Regions from separate parts of the Homo sapiens genome. Here region 2 is linked to region 1. The links are contacts of gene promoters, found by promoter capture Hi-C in human tissues and cell types (Jung and others, 2019). All regions are on one chromosome and are shown on one strand. Each heading gives the region's core, a stretch centred on a gene start or on the middle of the fragment in contact. The rest is flanking DNA. Distances are from core to core; before and after follow the strand shown. Region 1 holds the start of RPL35A (ribosomal protein L35a). Region 2 overlaps LRCH3 (leucine rich repeats and calponin homology domain containing 3).

Region 1 (4,208 bases), core at 781-3,280:
TGACCTCAAGTGATCCACCCACCTCAGCCTCCCAAAGTGCTGGGATGACAGGCGTGAGCCACTGCGCCCGGCCCATACTTTGTTTTAAAAAGTATTCTTATCATGCTCTACTAATGGTCATCACCTGCAGTTTGAAAAATGCCTTAACTGACACTTGTCCAAGTGATCCTTTCGCTGACTCGTCAGGCCAGATCAGGCTTCTGGGCACTCATGCCACTACTTTCCCGCAGAGCTGTGTTCACAATTTGTTACGTTAGTGTCAGTTTCCCCCCACTAGACAACTGTTCCATGAAAGCAGCAACATGACAACGATGCTCACAGTTGTATCAGGTGCTAAGTCTCAGTGCTCAATAAGTATTTGTGGAACGAATAATACACGAGCAAACGAATGAAACTCACACTTAATGTGTTATTCCTCCCAGGAGGACTTCCATATAGAACTTTGACAAATCAATATCTAATAGTGAAATTTCTAGCACATTTCTTTCTGGGACAGGGAACACTGGGTGGGGTAGTAGGCTACAAGGTACAAGTTCTATCCTGTTGTATTTAAGAGAGGATCTGATTTTAAAAGTGACTTATATACATCTATTTCATACAACTTCGGAGTCATACTTTACTCTCTCTCATTCCTCATCCACCAGCAAATCTTGCCAGAATTTAAATATATTCAGAATTCCAGTACTCAATATCCTCTGTTTACACACCATCACCTCTCATCATAGTCACTACAGGAACCTATAATTATCTTCCTGCTGATACCCTTGCCTCCCTTCACTTTCAACACAGTGACTTTGTCAATATAGAAGTCAGATAGAGTCACCCTTCTGTTCAGGACCCTTAAATAGTTCCCATCTCAAAGCAGGGGAAGCCTCTTTTACATACTTCCCATCTCAAAGTGGGGAAAGCCTCTTTTACAGTGGCCTCTCTGCTTAATTTTCTTCACAGAAATTATCATCTTCTAACGTGTCATCTATTTTTACTTGCTCATTGTGTTGCTCCGCCTCGTAGGATATAAGCTCCACGAGGGCATAGATTTGTTTACTGCCGTGTCATCTTACACAAACCTTGGTACAGGGTAGTCATTCATTAAACTATGTGTTAAATAAATGAATGAATCCATAGGATAACCCAAATAAATATGCAATAATTCGGAAATGTGAATCTCTGGCGTCCACTAATCCACCTCTACAAGTATCTACGGAGGACCTACTAGGTGCGGACACGAGGCAGCTAAACGAGTTCTCCTAAAAGGGCGATAAAGCCTCCTGCAGGCAGTCCTCCTCATACCTCGGATCCAAAAAGAAGAATGGAGGTAAGAACTTAAGTCATTTCATTCATTTTTTTTTTCTTTTGTAGAGGTTGGGGGAGGTGGTCTCACTATGTTGCCCAGGCTGGTCTCGAACTCCTGGCCTCAAGCGATCCTCCCGCCTCGGCTTCCCAAAGAGCTGGGTTTACAGGCGTGAGCCACTGTGCCCAGTCTCATTTCTTGAAAGAGATAAATAAGTAGAGGGGAGAAAAGAAGTATAGAAAAAGAAAAAAGAGAAGGAAGAGGTCCTGCTGCCTTCGTGCTCCCGGCCTTTCTCTTCCATGCTAGATTAGGATCCCAGAATTTCCGTTCTGTCTATTGCTGTGTGTATCGAGAGAAAAGCACCCCACTGTTGGCAAATCAATCTTACAGTCAATCATTCTTTAGGCAGCGGGAACATCCTCCACTCAGGGTTCGCCTTTCCACCTACGGCGTCCGGGGACGCAGGAAGTAAACTAAGTTGTTTCTATGGCAACGCACAGCTTTGGCGGATTTAGCTGGCTACCATTTTGCCTTCCCTTGTTCCCAAGTAGTACATTTTGCAGCCTACCAAGATGAAAGGACTTAGGAAAATAATTGTAAGAGTGCTATTGAATGTGGCTTATTTCAGTGCGAAGCCGATTTCCGAGGATTGTTTTTCTGGCGTTTGGAGAAGATGCCTAAATTGAGGGCGGAGTCGAAAGATGTTTAATCCCACAAGGCCACGCGGCGGGGCCTCGTCCTTCTCTTACCGCCATCTTGGCTCCTGTGGAGGTGAGTGAAGGGTCTGCTGCTGAAATTTGGGGGCAAATAACCGGAGTAGGTTTGTTCCTGTGCCTTGGCGAGTCGCCGGTGCGTATCGGAGTCTCTGCCAGCCATTGATTTCTACGGGTTTCAAGAAGAGGGAGAACAGGATGGAGGAGATGTTGGGCTGATGGTGTTTGGTCCCCTGACACCCGGAGAACGGCTGCCCGGGTTATCCCAGTTAAATTCCTGGGCCTGAACGGAGTGAAACGATGTTTTTGTTCGTGTGCAGTTGTCCATGAGGCAGTGCTTCCTTCATCCGTTTCCTCCCAGTCCATACCTTCCTTGGCTTGTCTGACCAGTCTCTTTCCTCAGCTTTTCTCCCCCAGCCATTGCATAAAAGTCTTACGTGTGTGTTTCTCTTTAAGGCTTCATTTCTTTTCCTGAGTGTTGCCTACTGATAACGGCATGCATTTTCTCAGGCTTTTCTGAGAGTCATTTTTGTGACTCCTGTCCCTTAGTTTTGTCTTCATTCTGAAGTTTGCTTAGATACCAGCTGTTCTCTGAGGTTTGAATGTCTTGCCGGACCCTGCGTTTCATATGGATGTTCTGGCATTGTTGTCCCCGAACTCCTACATGAAACTCCCATCCAAAAGGAATTTGCTTTAGGGGCTTAAACGAGAGGGGACGAGGTGGGAAACTTGTGTGGCTTGGTTTTAAACTAATCTTTTTGTTTGTTTTAAGGCCTGCTGGGAACGGGACTTCTAAAAGGAACTATGTCTGGAAGGTACGCGTTTTAAATATAGTTCTTTATTTTTGTGTGTTAGACGTGAACGTAAATGCGAGCTTAAAATTGGCAAGAAAAAACTTAGATGTTTGCTCTGAGTAACTTTTGGGTGGGGGTGATTACAAGTCAGATTGGTTTTTTGAAGCTTATGTTTCATGTTGTGTATCTTTTGTGTCTTAGGCTGTGGTCCAAGGCCATTTTTGCTGGCTATAAGCGGGGTCTCCGGAACCAAAGGGAGCACACAGCTCTTCTTAAAATTGAAGGTGTTTACGCCCGAGATGAAACAGAATTCTATTTGGGCAAGAGATGCGCTTATGTATATAAAGCAAAGAAGTAAGTTTATGACACTGGTAGGTTTTGGGTTTTTGAGATCTGCCTCATTTTCTTTTTTATATAACGGAGTCTTGCTCTGTTGCCGAGGCTGGAATGCAGTGACTTGGTCTCCCTCACCGAAACCTCCGCCTCCCGGGTTCAAGCAAGTGTCCTGTCTCAGCCTCCCGAGTAGCTGGGATTACAGGCGCCGGCCACCACGCCCGGCTAGTTTTTGTATTATTAGTAGAGACAGGGTATTGCCATGTTGGCCAGGCTGGTCCCAAACTCCTGACCTTAGGTGATCCGCCCACCTCGGCCTCCCAAAGTGCTGAGATTACAGGCTTGAGCCACCGCGCCTGGCCTCATTATCCTATTGAAATAATAAACAAAAGATTTAGCTGAAGTACTTGGTATTGTTTTTTTGTTTTTGTGACAAGAGTCTCTGTTGCCCAGGTTGGAGGGCAGTAGCGCGATCTTGGCTCGCTGCAGCCTCTGCCTCCTGGCTCAAGCGATTCTCCTGCCTCAGCCTCCTGAGTAGCTGGGCTTACAGGGGTGTGCCACCACGCCCGGCTAATTTTTGTATTTTTACTAGAGAATGGGTTTCCCCATGTTGGCCAGGCTGGATTGGTATTGCTGTGGCTTCTATTTTGCGTCATTAAGGAACTTAATGGGGAGTTTTAGAAGGACGTTACTTCTGAGGGTGGTGTTGGATTTAGGTACCTTTTGCACTTGTAAGCAATAAAGGAGGTAATTCCTTATATTGTGATCCTTTTAAGGTTTCTAATTTTTTTTCTCGGCTCCTTTTGCCAGAATTTAAGGATTTTTAGAACACTTGTGCTTAATGCATTTTGTTAATGCCTTAAAATTATGGGTTTTTTTTTTTTTTTTTTTTTTTTTTGGAGACGGAGTCTCACTGTCACCTAGGCTGGAGTGCAGTAGCACAATATCGGCTCACCGCAACCTCCGCCTCCCGGGTTCAAGGGATTCTCCTGCCTTAGCCTCCTGAGTAGCTGGGATTACAGGCGGCCGCCACCATGCCTGTCTAATTTTTGTATATTTAGTAGAGATGGGGTTTCA
Region 2 (4,208 bases), core at 1,228-3,727, 130 kb before region 1:
TTTCTTTTAGTCATATTGGAAGAATTTTAAGTGTTAATGTGGCAGCTTCCCTCTGTTCATATAATGATGGGTTTACAAATTATTTTGGCTGATCTCAGAATTATGGTATTCTGAATTTATTAATCTTCGAACCTGTAGGTAGTCTCTTTTCAGAACCATTGAATTAAGCTATTAAGTGAGATACCAGAAGGTCTCCCAAACATATCTAATTTTATAGACAGTTTAAAGCAGACAAGTTTGTAATGTTAGGACAATCTTTATTTTGTATCTTTTCGAAATAGGATGTGAGCTGCAATGAAATTCAAACTATACCTTCCCAAATTGGTAACCTGGAGGCCTTGAGAGACCTTAATGTAAGAAGAAATCACCTAGTACATTTGCCTGAAGGTAAGAAACTATGAAATAAGAAACCATGAAATAATTGTTTTATTATTTTAAAGCTCTCTCAGACCAATCAAGACAAAAATGTATAAGGGTTACATCTAGGCTGGGCGCTGTGGCTCCTGCCTGTAATGCCAACACTTTGGGAGGCCGATGAGGGAGGATTGCTTGAACCCAGGAATTCGAGACCAGCCTGGGCAATATAGGGAGTCTGTCTCTACAGAAAATTAACAAATTAGCCCAGGGGGCTGGCGCACTCTTGTAGTCCCAGCTACTCAGGAAGCTGAGGTGGGAGGAGTCCCTGAGCCCAGGAGGCCAAGGCTGCAGTGAGCTGTGGTGGGGTCACTGCACTCTAGCCTGAGCACCAGAAAGAGACCTTTTTTAAAAAAACGGGGTGGGGAGAGAGAGAGAGAGTGTGTGTGTGTCTGTGTGTGTTTGTGTGTGTGTGAGAGAGTATGTGTGTGTTACCTCCAGTGTTTGAAATCTAATGGTTTATTTAATAGTGTTATCTGTTCCATTGTGGATTTTAAAAGCCTCTTCAATGAAAAGGTTTGATAACTCTTGACCTTTGATTTTATTTTTAGATCTTGTCAACCGATGTAATTAATAACTCAGGGTAGGGTCCCTGGAAATTTCAGTAAGCATGACTGTTTGGGGGAAATGTAACATGTTTGGATAAGGGGATAGTGTAGTATAATGAAAAACATTTCTGCAGTTAGCACTCACTTAAAAATGGACTTTGACCTGAACTTAACCGGTCACTGGAGATGTTCAAACAGAGGCTAATGAACCATGTGGAGGTGATGTGTAGAGTGAATGATAAATGGGGTGAGAGACTGCGCTAAGAGACGGGTTATTTACTTAGGCTGACTACAAGCTCTGATATATGTATTTGATAAAAATGATTAAACATTAATGAAGTCTAGTTTATCAATCTTTCACAAATTAATGAAACAGAATGCTAGAAAGGAAGATGAAAATGAGAGCTATTATTTTATGAGATCCAGAATATATATTTCTTCCTATATGTTTCTGCTCATCACCCAGCAGTAAGAGTCATCAGCTCATGGCAAGTCTTGTCTCAACTGTGCTCTCATTTACTTTCCCCTGCACTATTCTCTAGATTAATTTGAATCAAATACAGAAATTTATTGGTAAACATTCCAGAAAAACAAGGAATCTTCTCAAGGTATTTTCATGACAGTGCTTTTCTGGGTTCTTTGACAAAATATGACTTACAGTGTACAATCAATATTTTGTTTGTTTTGAGACAGGGTCTCACTCCCATTACTCAGGCTAGAGTGCAGTGGCACGAACATGGCTCACTGCAGCCTCGACCTCTCAGGTTTAGGTGATCCTCTCACCTCAGCCTCCCAGGTAGCTTAGACTACAGGCACTTGCCACCATGTCACCTACTTTTTGTATTTTTAGTAGAGACGGGGTTTTGCCCTGTTGCCCAGGCTGGTCTCAAACTCCTGGGGTCAAGAGATCCACTTGCCTCAGCCTGTCAGAGTGCTGGGATTATAGGCGTGAGCCACTGCACCTGGCCACAATACATGTTGAATTAACTAATGATGTTTTCGCTTTCCCTGTGGAATTCAAATATTTATACCAATTTGATACAGCATAATATTTAGTTCTAACATACTAGTGGAGCTTTGACATTTTGGATTCCAAGTAAATGTGTAAGAACGTGACCTTTTCAGTCCACTTTTATATACTTACTGCAACCAAAACCTTGCGTGTCTTTCCTCTCACTTGGCTTGTCCAGGAACCTTCACACTTTTTATCCTCAGGGCCTTCCTTATTTTCTCCTGGTTCTGTTTGCTACCAACTCAGGAATGTAAATGAAGGTTAGCAAAACCAAAATCATGACCTCTAGGACCTTATAACCCCAAATTTCTCCCTAGGGTTACCTCTGTACTCAGGACTCGCCTACTGTGGTTGGTCTTCAAAGACTTACTCCTATAATAATATTTAGTGTGAAATCAATTAATGAGAATATTAGGGTTTTAATCAAAATGAAAATTGAGCATTTCAGATGACAATGGAAGCTTAATAGTTTTATCAACTAATTTATTTCTGTATCTTATTTTGATTGTAGACTGCTGACAAAATGGTTTATCACACAAATAGTTTCAATTTTTTTAACAGTTTATTTTATAATCTCAGCACATATAGTTGAACTGAGTTAGCAAGTGAAGCTTTATTCCAACAGCTACATTCGTTCGTGTGGAAGTTTGTGTTACTTAATTGGTAATTTCTAACATTGCAATTTGGTACATGTCATATATCTTTTGTTATATTGCCATTTTGATTTAAAATTAATTTTTACCAAATAATATGTTACATCATTCAAAAAATATTAAAAAATATTAAGAATCTTTTTTTTTTTTTTTTCTTGAGACGGAGTCTCACTCTGTCACGCAGGCTGGAGTGCAGTGGTGCGATCTCAGCTTACTGCAAGCTTCACCTCCTGGGTTCATGCCATTCTCCTGCCTCAGCCTCCCGAGTAGCTGGCATTACAGGCACACACCACCACACCCAGCTAATTTTTGTATTTTTACTTCTTTTTTTTTTTTTGAGACGGAGTCTCACACTGTCGCCCTGGCTGGAGTACAGTGGAGTGATCTTGGCTCACTGCAACCTCTGCCTCCCAAGTAGCTGGGATTACAGGTGCCCGCCACCATGCCCAGTTAATTTTTTTTTTTTTTTTTGTATTTTTAGTAGAGACGGGGTTTCATTATGTTGGCCAGGCTGGTCTCAAACTCCTGACCTCATGATCCGCCTGCCTCAGCCTCCCAAAGTGCTAGGATTACAGGCGTGAGCCACCGTGCCCGGCCTTTTTTGTATTTTTAGTAGAGACGGGGTTTCACCATGTTGCCCAGGATGGTCTTGATCTCCTGACCTCGTGATCCGCCTGCCTCAGCCTCCCAAAATGCTGGGATTACAGTCGTGAGCCACCGTGCCCAGCCAAGAATCTTAAATAGTGTCGTTCCCCTGCCTCAAACTTCCCTGCACACCAATTTCAATGGCCAAAAGTATGTACCTTCATTAAACTCCTTTGACTCTTTTTTTTTTTGAGATAGGGTCTCACTCTGTTGCCCAGGCTGGAGTGCATGGCGTGACCAGAGCTCACCGTAGCCTCGAACTCTGTGGGCTGAAGCCATCCTCCCATCTGAGCCTTCCAAGTAGCTGGGACTGCAGACATGCACCATCACACCCAGAAAATTTTGTATTGTTTTGTAGAGACAAGGGTCTCACCATGTTCCCCTGGCTGGTCTCCTGGACTCAAGCAATCCACCCACCTCAGCCTCCCAAAGTGCTGAGATTACAGGCATGAGCCACAGTGCCCAGACTGCTGACATATTTCTAACTGATATGTTTTTATAGCTATTGCTGGTTTGGGCAACTTTGACACTTATGTCAGCTTCCTATTGTGATGATAGATGAGGATTTAGTTTCCTTACACTGTCACCATACCATGCCTTTACTGCTTTCCTCCCATCTTCCCAGTGTAGTTTTAGCACAACTTCTGATTAAATTGTTACTCAGTGTTCACATTACTGTAATTATGTAAACATTGTTCCCTGCCAATTCAAGTGATGTACTCTGATTTTATTTCCTTTCTTGTACATGTTTTTTTCTTTTTTTTTTTGAGACAGAGTCTTGCTCTGTCGCCCAGGCTGGAGTGCAGTGGCATGATCTTGGCTCACTGCAGCCTCCGCCTCTCGGGTTCAAGCAATTCTCCTGCCTCAGCCTCCTGAGTAGCTGGAATTACAGGCGCCCGCCACCATGCCCAGCTAATTTTTGTATTTTTAGTAGAG

Evidence for each region. Contacts are between HindIII fragments. The study calls those that stand out against the background at their distance.
Region 2: a fragment that was not itself captured here is called in contact with the fragment with the promoter of RPL35A in region 1 in 2 of the 25 tissues and cell types used here (mesenchymal stem cells and thymus).

What each region holds. Positions count from the first base shown.
Region 1 is chr3:197,948,160-197,952,367 of GRCh38, forward strand. RPL35A (ribosomal protein L35a) reads left to right here and starts at 2,031. Exons shown (of 5, transcript NM_000996.4): 1 at 2,031-2,062; 2 at 2,777-2,819; 3 at 3,000-3,152. The coding sequence starts at 2,809. All of the region lies in intron 2 of DRC9 (dynein regulatory complex subunit 9), which reads right to left. RefSeq lists enhancers at 1,434-1,653, 1,733-2,515, 3,299-4,080. The HindIII fragment of the contact is 11,846 bases long and covers 1-4,208 here.
Region 2 is chr3:197,820,044-197,824,251 of GRCh38, forward strand. LRCH3 (leucine rich repeats and calponin homology domain containing 3) reads left to right here. Exons shown (of 21, transcript NM_001365715.1): 4 at 282-387. Among named protein-coding and RNA genes, the nearest start is that of LRCH3, 31 kb to the left of the region's middle. The HindIII fragment of the contact is 4,661 bases long and covers 148-4,208 here.